Regions from separate parts of the Homo sapiens genome. Here all the other regions are linked to region 3. Evidence: promoter capture Hi-C in human tissues and cell types (Jung and others, 2019). All regions are on one chromosome and are shown on one strand. The core of a region is centred on a gene start or on the middle of the fragment in contact, and the rest is flanking DNA. Distances in the headings are between cores, read along the strand shown. Region 1 overlaps SPPL3 (signal peptide peptidase like 3). Region 2 overlaps MLEC (malectin). Region 3 holds the start of P2RX7 (purinergic receptor P2X 7).

The links. The method cuts DNA at HindIII sites, captures the fragments that hold promoters and counts their contacts. A contact is called where the count stands out against the background at its distance.
Region 1: a fragment that was not itself captured here is called in contact with the fragment with the promoter of P2RX7 in region 3 in 1 of the 25 tissues and cell types used here (dorsolateral prefrontal cortex).
Region 2: a fragment that was not itself captured here is called in contact with the fragment with the promoter of P2RX7 in region 3 in 2 of the 25 tissues and cell types used here (H1 embryonic stem cells and spleen).

What each region holds. Positions count from the first base shown.
Region 1 is chr12:120,826,115-120,830,428 of GRCh38, forward strand. The region is part of intron 1 of SPPL3 (signal peptide peptidase like 3); the gene reads right to left. Among named protein-coding and RNA genes, the nearest start is that of SPPL3, 76 kb to the right of the region's middle. The HindIII fragment of the contact is 3,442 bases long and covers 1-3,061 here.
Region 2 is chr12:120,695,496-120,699,712 of GRCh38, forward strand. MLEC (malectin) reads left to right here. Exons shown (of 5, transcript NM_014730.4): 5 at 821-4,217. The coding sequence ends at 1,050. Among named protein-coding and RNA genes, the nearest start is that of MLEC, 10 kb to the left of the region's middle. The HindIII fragment of the contact is 3,246 bases long and covers 236-3,481 here.
Region 3 is chr12:121,130,797-121,134,903 of GRCh38, forward strand. P2RX7 (purinergic receptor P2X 7) reads left to right here and starts at 2,080. Exons shown (of 13, transcript NM_002562.6): 1 at 2,080-2,299. The coding sequence starts at 2,175. The region is part of intron 2 of LOC105370032 (a long non-coding RNA gene); the gene reads right to left. The HindIII fragment of the contact is 21,026 bases long and covers 1-4,107 here.

The DNA.
Region 1 (4,314 bases), core at 91-2,590, 310 kb before region 3:
GAAACCCTGTCTCTACTAAAAATACAAAATTAGCCGGGCATGGTGGCACATGTCTGTAATCCCCGCTACTCAGGAGGCTGAGGAAGGAGAATCGCTTGAACCTGGGAGGCAGAGGTGGCGGTGAGCTGAGATTGCACCATTGCACTCCAGCCTGGGCAACAAGATTGAAACTGTCTCCAAAAAAAAAAAAAAAAAAAGAAAGCAGGGCAAGAGTCAAAATTTCCATGGGTTATGACAAACTCAAACCTAGACCTACCTGCCTTGCCCTCTAACAGTGCTGGATACCTGACTGGGCATCGAAATCCCAATTTAGGCACTCATGTATGTGGCAGAGACAGTTAGAGGTCACAACTTAAGGCAGAACCCTTGACACGGATCACCTCCACCTGGCCTAAAGCTTACCTAACAGCAAGCCCAAACAGCACCACCAAACAGTGCCAGGGGAAACCTGTTCAGTGTTACACAGCCTAGTAAGTGATAAGAGTCTCTGCAAAATCGCTCCATAAAGCAGACACTCAGCTGTCTCTGGCCTTAGCAATAAGAAGAATATTTAATACCCTCGTTTTTCAGAAGTATATACAAAGGATCAATGACTAAGGTCTTTGATCTTTAGCTTCTCTAAAAAGATTCACATTAAATAATGTCTTGGAGTTTTCACCTAAGTTTATACCTGGAGTCCTGCTGTCCAGGACTCCAGGAGGGGAGAAAACACCAATACAATCTACTGTTTGAAACTAAAATAACAATGAGATGCCCTGGGTGATTTTATTTATGAATTTTCTAATTAATCCTGACAAAATTGAGACATTCATAAAATGAGTGTCAAAATTTAAAAGTCATATACTGGAAGAGGTTATTTTTATTTGGTAGCTGTAAAGGGTGCTGGACTCTGTTCTCCAGTTGGTGATTTCTACCAACCCCGAGAATGTTTTCAGAGGAAACTTGACTTAGCAGGAGTCAAATTCTTGGTTAGAGTTTAAATCACAGTATTTTGAAAGTGTGGGTTTTAAAGATTTTTCCAAACTATGTTTTCCTCTATATAGGGGGGCCACAAACAGCCAAACAAAAGTTATCTGAACTTCTTTATATAATAAACATGAGAAATACCCTTAACAGGGAAGTAGTTCTTTAAAAACTATCCAAGAAGCCAGACAAAACTTATTTGAAAGGCCTATGAGACCAAGAAATATAACTGCTGCTATAATAACAGGAACAATAATAATAATAATAATAATAATAATATAATAATATAATAATAATAACAATAATAATAATAATACTTTGGGGGCTCTTACTGAGTTGCTAGACTTCATACAAGCTGTTTACATTTTCCTCATTTCATCTTTTCAACTTCTCCCTGAGGAACATACTTCCACTATCAGCTTTAGAGATGAGGATACTGAAGCAGAGAGATGAACTAGTTTGTCCAAGGTCAAACAGCTGCACAGCTTCAAGGAAGAAGAACTAGCATTCCCATCCAGGCAGCCTGGTTCTAGATCCAGAGGTCATGCTTTAAACCATTTTACAACACTCCCTAGCTCAACCTGGCTTGTGCCCCCCAGCCTCAGCTGGGATCATTAAGTTGTATCATGAATCAAAACGCACCCTCCAAGAGCTAATGGTAAACACCACACATGGACCATTTTCCAGACTGGCCCATAAAAACAAGTCTCAAATAATTTTTTTTTTTTTGAGACAAGTCTCACTCTGTTGCCCAGGCTGGAGTGCAGTGGTGCCATCTTGGCTCACTGCATCCTCCGCCTCCCAGGTTCAAGTGATTCTCCTGCCTCAGCCTCCCGAGGAGCTGGGACTACAGGTGCACACCACCACACCTAGCTAATTTTTGTATTTTTAGTAGAGATGGGGTTTTGCCATGTTGGCCAGGCTGGTCTCCAACTCCTGACCTCAGGTGATCTGCCTGCCTCAGCCTCCCAAAGTGTTGGGATTACAGGCATGAGCCACCACGTCTGGCCTAAGTCTCAAATAATTTAAAAGAACTGATATTATACGAAATATGCTCTCCAACTACAATTTAAATTAGAAATCACCCAAAGGAAAATCTGTGAAAATCCCCAAATATGTGGAAATTAAACACACTCCTAAATAACCCATGGGTCAAATAAGAGATCACATGGAAAATTAGAAAATATCTTGAACTGAATGAGGATGAAAACAAAACATATCAAAATATGTGGAAGGCAGCTAAAGCAATGTTTATACAGGCAAATCTACAGCATTAAGTGATTATACTGGAAAATAAAAAAAGGTTCAAAAATCAAAGTTTTTGCCTTAAAAAAAACTAGAAAAAAAAGAGCAAATTAAACTCAAATCAAATAGAAGGAAGGAAGTAATACAGAGCAGAAATCAATGAGACTGAAAACTACAAAATTCCTTTCTGCAGAAATCCATCGGCTAGTTCCAAAATTTGTATGAAAGCAAAGGAAGTAGAATAGCTAAAACAATCTTGGGGAAAAAAAGTTGGAGGATTCACATTAACTGATTTAAACACTTACTATAAAACTACAGTATTTATAGTGTGAATTGGTGAGGAATACACGTACTGTTCAATGGAACATAGATTCCAGAAATTCACAAATTTATAACCAATGAATTTCTAACAAAAGTTCCAAGAGGAAAGAAAGTCTTTTTTGTTTGTGTTAGAGATGGAGTCTTGCTCTGTTGCCTAGGCTGGGGTGCAGTGGCGTGATCACAGCTCACTACAGCTTCGAACTCCTGGGCTCAAGAGATCCTCTGCCTCAGCCTCCCGAGTTGCTGGGACTACAGGTGTGTGCTACCACTTCCGGCTAAGTTTTTTATTTTTATTTCTTGTAGAGATGGGGGTCTCTCTATGTTGCCCAGGCTGGTCATGAGCTCCTGGGCTCAAGTGATCCTCCTGCCTCAAGCCTTCCAAAGTTCTGGGATTAGAGGCATGAGTTATTGGGCCCAGACTAGGAATAGTCTTTTCAACAAACAGTGTTTGAACAACTGGATGTAAATATGCAAAACAAACAAAAAGCCTCACACTGTATGCAAAAACAGATCATAAGCTTAAATGTGAAACTGAAATCCATAAAGCTTCTAGAAGAAAACAGAAAAATCTTTGTGACATTGGGTTAGGTTAAAAATTTCTTAAAACACAGAACAGATCATAAAAGAAAATTTGATAGGTCAGACCTTATCAAAATAAAAGCTGCTCTTTGGCTGGGTACGGTAGCTCACGCCTGTAATCCCAGCACTTTGGGAGGCCACGGCAGGCGGATCACTTGAGGTCAGGAGTTTGAGACCAGCCTGGCAGACGTGGTGAAACCCCGTCTCTACTAAAAATACAAAAATTAGCCCGGCATGATGGTATATACCTGCAGTCCCAGCTACTCTGGAGACTGAGGCAGGGGAATCGCTTGGACCTAGGGGGCAGGGGTTGCAGTGAGCTGAGATTGCACCACTGTACTCCAGCCTGGGTGACAGAGGGAGACTCTGCCTCAAAAAAGAAAAAAAACAAAACAAAACTGCTCTTTGAAAGACACTGGTCAAGAAAATGAAAACACAAGACATAGACCAGGAGAAAATTCTGCAAAATACATATCAAATAAAGAACTGAGGCTGGGTGTGGTGGCTCACACCTGCAATCCCAGTACTTTGGGAGGCCGAGGTGGGCGGATCACCTGTGGACGGGAGTTTGAGCCAGCCTGGCCACCATGGTAAAACCCTGTTTCTACTAAAAATATAAAAATGAGCCAGCTGTGGTGGCAGGCATCTGTAATCTCAGCTTCTTGGGAGGCTGAGACAGGAGAATCACTTGAATGCGCGAGATAGAGGTCGCAGTGAGCTGAGATCGCACCATTGCACTCCAGGCTGGGTGACAAGAGCAAAACTCCATCTCAAAAAAAAAAAAAAAGAAGAGTAAATTTCACTGTTCACGAACTACACCTTTAAAAATCTGACTTTAGTATCCCAGTGAAAAGACAGTTAAGATGGTGGCTGGTACTGGGGTGAAACTCATGGTAGCTGTGAGAAGTTATCTGGTCTTAGATACATTAATATTTGGAAGATGTATCTACAGGATTTCCTGACAGAGTGAACACAGAGCATGAGTGAAAAAGAAGCCAAAGATGACTACGACCAAGCAACTGGGAGAATGAAACACCATCAGCTGAAACGAGATGGAATAAGGGAGAGGGGAGGGGGAAGGAGGGGGGAGGGGGAAGGGAGGGGTGGGGGGGAGGTGGAAAGGAGGGGGGAGGGGGAAGGGGTGAGGGGGAAGGGGAGGGGGGAAGAAGGGGGAGGGGGAAGGGGAGGGGGAAGAAGGGGGAGGGG
Region 2 (4,217 bases), core at 609-3,108, 440 kb before region 3:
CATCTCTTTCCTAGGGGAAAAAAAGGTAAAAGGAGGAGTCCTGTAGGCTTTTGGTATGCTCTGAAAGATTCCAGCATTGCTGGACTGCACTGGGACAAAACTTCACTTATTTATGTCTCCTTATCCTTGGGATCAAGTCTTAGAGTATATTTCTTTCTCAGGGTTTAGATTCTCCTGGCTGCCAGCATCTCAGGCTGATTTTTGCAGAGAAAGCTGCGTCTTTGTGACATTTCTCCCCCATTCCACCTCTGTACCTTTCCCCAACTCAATCTTGAATGCACTGAGGATTTCATCCTGTTGTCTTGATGTCCCCCAAATGCTGATATTATGACATCTAGGAGGATGAATGTCTTACCACCAAACAGACCTGTGTTCAAGTCCCTGAGGAGGAGGCAGGACAGAGGGATAGTGTGTGCTGGGAACCCAGAACTCTCTGGGTCAACGTTTCTTCAGTTGTTGTGTGAATCAAAAGGGAATGTGGGCTTGTGGGAGGAGGAGGGATTTGAAAAGGCTAAAGTTTAGGCATTGGATCATTGTCCCTGTCCAGTCTGGTTATCTTGGGGCTCTGTAAAAGTAGAACAGGAAGGTAAGATAGTGAACCTCCCTATGAGCACGGCTTTTTCTACTTTCTAGTTAAATCTAAAGCTTTTGCAGCACTCTGCTGTTCTGTAGACCAGAGGCTATTTCTGCTACTTCTGGTCTTTTCTCTGGACCCGGGTTCAATCACAGCAATCTCTTTATTGTGGCTTATTTGCTGCTTTTAAGGGTCTCTCTTACTTAAATGCTGTGGGTCTTAACAGTGTTTTCTTCCTTGTGTTAGATGTACCAAAGCTTCAGCCTCATCCGGGATTGGAGAAGAAAGAAGAGGAAGAAGAAGAAGAAGAATATGATGAAGGGTCTAATCTCAAAAAACAGACCAATAAGAACCGGGTGCAGTCAGGCCCCCGCACACCCAACCCCTATGCCTCGGACAACAGCAGCCTCATGTTTCCCATCCTGGTGGCCTTCGGAGTCTTCATTCCAACCCTCTTCTGCCTCTGCCGGTTGTGAGAACAAATGACTATCCTGAACAGGGTGGAGGGGTGTGGGAAAGAAACCAGCCATATTGGTTTTGGTTTCTGTATTTTTCACAATGATTAATGAACAAAAACAAAGAGAAAAAAACACACATCAATTAAAGGAGACAAAAAGAGGCAGAGCGAGTAGAGAGCAGCCCTCATTCACCACCTGGTCCCAGACGTGCTTCAGTCCTCGTCCTCTCTTTGTGGCTGGCTCCCAGCCTTCTCTTTCCTCTTGAGGATACTTAGGGTAAACTGGATCCTTCCTGCTCAAGGATCCTCATTTGTATACCTAGTGGAAAGGACTCTGAACTCAGAGGAGTCACTGTTCCTTTTTTTAGGTTAGAAATTAACAGCAGGGAAATGCCATCTTATTACCTGAGACGACCAGCACTGGGAGTTAGGTACGGTCTGAAGTTATGTCTAGATAAGACTTCAGACGTCCTGGGATTGAAAGAATGTGTGTGAAGGGGTAGAATTTGTGCGGTAAAGACTTAAAAAAAAAAGTAGGGAGATTAAAAAAAAAGAAAGAAAATGCTTCCTTATCTGGAAGCCTTTCTGGATTAATCCAGTGATGGTCCCACCTTTAGTGTTTGAGCTTTGTCATTGCTTGTCTCCCTGGCATGTGCCAGTTATAGACTGTCCAGCATCCAAGACGTTTCGGTTATGTCGGGTCCTCAGATCGCCTCTGACTTGTTACCACAACAAATCATTTTGATTTCAGTGCCTGTTGGGGACTTGATTTCTTCTCAGTTTTGTTTGTTTGTTTGTTTCCTTAATCTGGCTCATTTGAAATTTCTTCTCCCTCTCAACCATCCCACTAAGTTATAGCCAAGAAGGGAAGGAGACACGGGGATTTGGGGTTCTCTGCTTGAATGTCTTCTCCTTTACCACCTCACCTTGTTGGTACCTCCCTCCCTGGATCTCTGAGCCAGCAGCCAGGAGGACCTGACCCAGCAGTTCTTTACTGGCCCCTTTGTAGGGCCTTGCTGCCAGGGGGCAGGGATGCTTTCCAGCCTGCAGCAACAGAACACTTGACCTTAAAAGTCTCTTCTGGTCTTTGGATTAGAAAAGGCTTATGTTAGCATAGCTTAAGAGCAACCTCAGAGATTTGAGCCCTACTAAGTGACTGACCACTGTTTAGAGTGTCTGGTATCTGATGTTCATTTATTCCCATGTTCTTGTGTGTCACAGTTCAGCCAGTTTTGGTTTATGCCTAGAGCTACTTCAAGGAACTAGACTAATTAGCTATATAGGCCCAGCGATGCTTCTTATTGATCTTAATAGTATGCCCCTCCTTCCCCTGTCCTTTCATTTCTCTATCCAAGTAGCAGTCAGGTTCTTGGTGTGATGGGACTGAAAGAATTCCAGTCAGCCAGAGCCTTGGCAGCTCTGAAGCTAACCTTAGCATCTAAGTGTCGATCTTGAATTCCCTGAAAAAATTTCTATAGGAAATGAAGCTTCCCTGGTCCCCTCCTTTCTGGCCATTGTCATCCATTTCCCAGTTAGGGCAACAATGAAGGAGGACCCAGCCAAGCTAGAAGGAATTTTGTGGATGGGAGACAGCAGGATTAGCTTCAGCTTGGGCTGGAGCAGTCAATATAGGATCTCAGGCCAGGCCCGCTTTTCTAGAATGTGTTTAATTTTGAGTTTGCTTTATTAGATATGTTTTTTAAGAGCTCTGTATATTTGAACTGCTCCTTATGTGACAAAATAGGTAGCTCTTGGGCTCATGTCCTGGGTTTTGGCTCTTTAATGATTACTCCAGGCCAGCATTTAGTCGTTTGAGAATTGTAGCCTGTTGTTTTCGCTGTGACTTGGGTCTCAGTGCTAGGGTATTGAGTCAGGCAGCTGGAGGGTTGTGGCCCGAGGCTGCAGTCAGAGGTATACTTCCCATAGTGCTTCACACAGCTCCCCTGCTTCTAAAGGATAAGGTACTGTAGCCTTGGTCCTGGGGACCACCTGCCTGGGGCAGTGGACATCCTAACTAAACAGGCTTCTGGCAGTAGCTTTGGTTCCTATCCCATCGAAATTCCCCAAAGCCCTGGGCCACTGCCATTGGGTTAGTCAAGATGAAGGAGGAGGACTGGCTGCCTCCATTTTGCCTTGTTTGTTAGTTTGCCTGGGTCTGTCTGAGGAAGGAGGGGGTCCCGCCTTCCACCTCAACACATCCCTTCAGTGACTCAGAGTCTCAGAAGGAAACCCTGACTCCTGGGGCCATTTCCTAATGGTACTGTAAGCCAAGCAGCTTTGCTTCTGCCTCTGTTTCCAAGCCCACCCTTTTCCCCTGAGCTCAGGGTTAGGGATGGGCGCTTTCCTCTCTGGTTGTGAACGAAAGGAAGGAACATCTTTCTATGGCTAACAAAAACTAAAGGGGAAGTGAGGAAACAGGAAGAAGTATGGTGGGGGCTGGGGTAGACTCCCCTGGAGCCAAGCCTATCCAGCTAACAAGAGCTCCCTGGGGCTGGTCACAGCTGGCTCATGATGCTGAACTTGAAAGTTTTTTTGTTTTTGTTTTTGTTTTGTGGCTCCTCCAAGATATAGGTACATGAAGTTTAGGTTAAAGGGGTGGGATTCTTTATTTTTATTTTTGTATTGTATGTGTCAAGAATTACTCTGTTGTTCACCTTTTGCTTTTTGCACTGTTTGTTCTCTTATCTGTATTTTGAGCTTAGTGCTAGGACTGAGAGGCTGCACCATAGGGAATGTATGGGAGATGGTGAGGGGTGCCAGTGAGGGGTGCGTGGAGGAGAGGCCTGGGCTCCTCTACTGGATCTACACTCTGTCCCAGGTTTTTAGATCCCACTGAGCCCAGCTGACTGAAAACAAGGACAGTCAGGGTGAAACTTCTTTTGCCAGAAGTGTGGCCTGAGTTGAATTTCTGGGAGGATGACGCAGATGTCTGCTGCAGAGCTGGGCTGAGAGTTCTGCAGTCTAGCTCTGACTTAGGTCAGGGGCCTGTTGGTCTCTCATTGGACGTTTTTGGGTCTCACTCATGCTTACTGAAACATTGTGCCAAGAAACTCTGTGGGATTTGTGTCCCTTAAACCAGACTCACTTTTCTGAAAAATCTCCATTGTTGAGGAGAGGCTGCTCAATCGACACCCCGAGTTCTCATGACTGGGAAGATAGTTTTCTTCAGGTGTCAATGGCGTTAGA
Region 3 (4,107 bases), core at 830-3,329:
TCAAAAAAACAAAAAAAAAAAAAAAAAAAAAAAAAGAAAGAAAGAAAAGAGAAAGAAAGAAAGACAAGAAAATAGATGTCTTTGAGTGGTAGCAAGAGCAACACTGAAGTGATTTGCCTATTCTGGACATTTCCTATAAATGGAGTCGTAAAAGATGTATCCTTTTGTGTCTGGCCTCTTTCACTTAAGCGTAGTGTTTTCAAGGTTCATCCATGTTGGAGCATGGGTCAGTGTTTCATTCCTTTTTATGGCTGAATAATATTCCCTTGTATGGGCTTTCGTGCTTTTGTGTATCCATCCATCAGCTGATGGACATTTGACTTGTCTGCCTGTTCACTGCCATATCTACTATTCCTGGTGCTCTTGGGAATGAGTGAATGAATAGCATAAACAGAGCTGTCCAGGGTCACAGAGCTGGTAAGATGTGAAGCCAGGATCGGAAGCCAGGCCATTAGTCCCCTAGAGCCTATGTTCTAAGCATCAGGCTTTACCTGTGAATCTCCTCTTTTTACAGATGAAGATGACCGTATCACTCAGATTCCCGGCAGGAAAGCAATGGCATACTCAAGTGGGGTAACTAATGATGGAACCATTTACAAAGGTGTGGACAGAGTTAAGAAAAAGCAATAGGAGATAGTGAGCTTCCTGGGGCTGGTAAGAGTGGGGAGCCCTTACCACTCCCAGGACTAAAGGAGGGAGTGGTGCCCAGAAGCCCTGCCTATATGCAACTGAGAAGGGCAGGGCCAGGGAGTCACGTCCATCCTCACTGCTCTCCAGTCTCCTGAACTGGAAGCCAGAAGGTGAGGGGAACCCTGATGCAGTTTGTATGTGTGAGAAAGTACAATTAGTTTAGACTGAAAAACTGAAAATCTACCCGGCCACTTAGCAGGCTGGAATAACAGAAAGGGATCAAGCCAGCTGTAAAGATAACAGGGAACAATAATTCTCTGTAGCTGTAAAGTGATAATACAACCCTGCATCTTTGAGTGACTGCTGAAACATTGTCCTTTAAAATCAGAGACCTTCAGAAACTTTGCTGTTTGAAATTACATGACTAAGACTGAAATATTCCAATTTTGCCTGGAAGATTTAAGTCATCTTGACACAGAGAAGCAGCCTCAATTTACAACTCAGGAGCAGAGCTTCAGATAAAGATTTTCTGGACACATTTGACATGTATCTTAGCTATGTTGCTTCCTAGGAAACAGGGCCCTGGGTCCTCTTTGCAATCCAGACTGAAGTTGACTGCTTTGTACAAACCTGTTTTGCTTTGAGTCCATCAAAACATGACTTCATTTAGATTTTATCTCAACTCCACTTTCCTCGGAATCCTATAATAAATTGCTGTTTTCCTTTGTTTGGTGATGTGCGTAGCTCTTCTGGTGGGTGGTGTCCCTCACTGAATAGGTCAACAAACCTAACTTTGTTGGACTGCCACTGTGTCCCTGGTGATCTTTGGCTGATTGGTCTAGGTCATAGATCGACCTGCCGGGGTGCAGAGGAGGGTGGAGAGTAACTCAGAGGGTCAAGCATGAAAGATCTGGCAGAAAAATAAAGCCCCTCCACCCCCACCACCCCTACCCCTGCAAATCTGATTTCCCCCACCAACTGCAGACCAGAGTATTATAAGGGGCGGTGGAAGAAGAGGGGGAGATCTTCATTTACCCAGAGCTCCTATACATCAGGGGCTGAATAAAGGGTTGTAGAAATGAATGAATCAATCTCTGAGTGGGGCTTCAGGCAATGGAAAGATCTCAGTCCTTTTCTGAGGCATAATGGAAGCTCCCAGTCTTGTGACATTTGCAAGGCTGCCCCTTTCTCCCAAGAGACATGAGACCAAAAAAGTGAAAGGAAAGGGGGGAAAAGGGAGAATTCTAAAAATGCCCATCCTCTGAACACCATCTTTGTGTAGGCATCTGGGGGAGGCCAGCTGGGGTGAGGTCATCTGCCAGCCAGGCCCGTAGGACTTGGCGCTTCTTGTTTATCACAGCCACATGTGGGGCCACTGCCAGGGCCCGCCCCAACTCTGCAGTCATTGGAGGAGCTTGAAGTTAAAGACTCCTGCTAAAAACCAGTACGTTTCATTTTGCAGTTACTGGGAGGGGGCTTGCTGTGGCCCTGTCAGGAAGAGTAGAGCTCTGGTCCAGCTCCGCGCAGGGAGGGAGGCTGTCACCATGCCGGCCTGCTGCAGCTGCAGTGATGTTTTCCAGTATGAGACGAACAAAGTCACTCGGATCCAGAGCATGAATTATGGCACCATTAAGTGGTTCTTCCACGTGATCATCTTTTCCTACGTTTGGTAAGTGGGATCTGGGGAGGACCCAGATCTCTGCAGTGGCCGACAGCACAGAAAGCCCCAGCGGGCAGCTTCAGGTGCACATTCTGAATCTCACATGGTTTTCGAATCTGAGACGTGCTCTCACAGCCAGCTGGGCGGGAGGGAGGAAGCAGCAGCAGGCAAGAGGAAACGGTGCCAGGCTGCAGCAGAGAGAAGCCACAGGACAAGCGGGATTCCTTTCTGCTCTACTTCAGGCCCGCCAGGGCGCGCAGGGCAGGGCGTGCCTGGGGAAGGTAGGAAAGCGCAGGGCAACACCCTGGATCCCCAGGGAGGAGGCGAGGATCTCAGGGCACGCCTGGTGATCATGCTGGCATCTGAGTCACCATGCTTGGGAGGAATAGGACCAGGCTTGAAAATGTGTTATAACTTTAGGTCCTCACCAACGTCAGGAAGGCCCTGCTTTTTGGTTTTTGTTTCTTCTAAAAGAAACTTACTGAGATATAATTTATACACCATACAATTGACCCATTTAAAGGGTACCATTTAATGATTTTCAGATTATTCCCAGAGTTGTGCAACCATCCCCACAATCAATTTTAGAATATTTTAATCGACTCAAAAGGAATCCCACACTCCTTCACCATCATTTCCAACACTGTTCCTCCTCCTTCCCACCCATCAATTTCCTTTCTGCCTCTATGGATTTGCCGATTCTGGACATTTCATATAAATGGAATCACATAATATGTGGTCCTTTGTGGCACTTAGCGTGTTTTCAATGCTCATCCATGTTGTAGCATGTGTTGATACTTCATTCAATTTTTTTTTTTAAAGAGACGGGGTCTCACTATTTTGTCCAGGCTGGTCTCAAACTCCTGGACTCAAGTGATCTGCCTGCCTCGGCCTCCCAAAGTGTCAGGATTACAGGCGTGAGCCATTGCACCCGGCTGATACTTCATTCCTTTTTACGGCTGAGTAGTACTCCATTGCATGGATAGACCACTTTTTTCTATCCATTCATCCATTGATGGACATTGGGGTTGTTTCTCTTTTTTGGCTATCATGAATAATGCCACATGAACATTTGTGTACAAGGTTTTATGTGGATATATATTCTCCTTTCTCTCGAATATGTACCTAAGAGTAAAAATTGCTAGGTCATATGTTAACTATGTTTCACCTTTGGGGGGAATGTGGAGCTGAATTTCACAGCAGCTGCAGTTTTTTACATTCCTATCAGCAGAGTATGAGGGATCCAATTTCTCCACATCCTCACCAACGCTTGTTATCGTCTGTCTTTTTGGGTTTTGTTGTTGTCATTTTGTTTTTGTCTTTGAGATGAAGTCTTGCTCTGTTGCCCAGGCTGGAGTGCAGTGGCGCAATCTTGGCTCACTGCAACCTCCACCTCCCCGGTTCAAGCGATTCTCCTGCCTCAGCCTCATGAGTAGCTGGGATTACAGGTGTGCGTCACCACTCCTCACTAATTTTTGTATTTTTAGTAGAGATGAGGTTTCGCCATGTAGGCCAGGCTGGTCTCAAACTCCTGACCTCAAGTGATCCGCCCACCTTGGCCTCCCAAAGTGCTGGGATTACAGGCATGAGCCGCCACGCCCGGCTGATTGTCTGTCTTTTTTATTATAGCCATGCTAGTGGGTGTGAAGTGGTAGTTCATTGTGGTTGTGATTTGAATTTCCCTGATGGTGAGTGCCTCTTATTCTCTGTGCTGATTGATAATGATGATGAAGGCAATTTGTATCTATAGAGTGGCAGTGTAGTTTACTAAGAGTTAGGGTAACTTATTTCATAGTACTGGCTATGTCTTCTGGGCC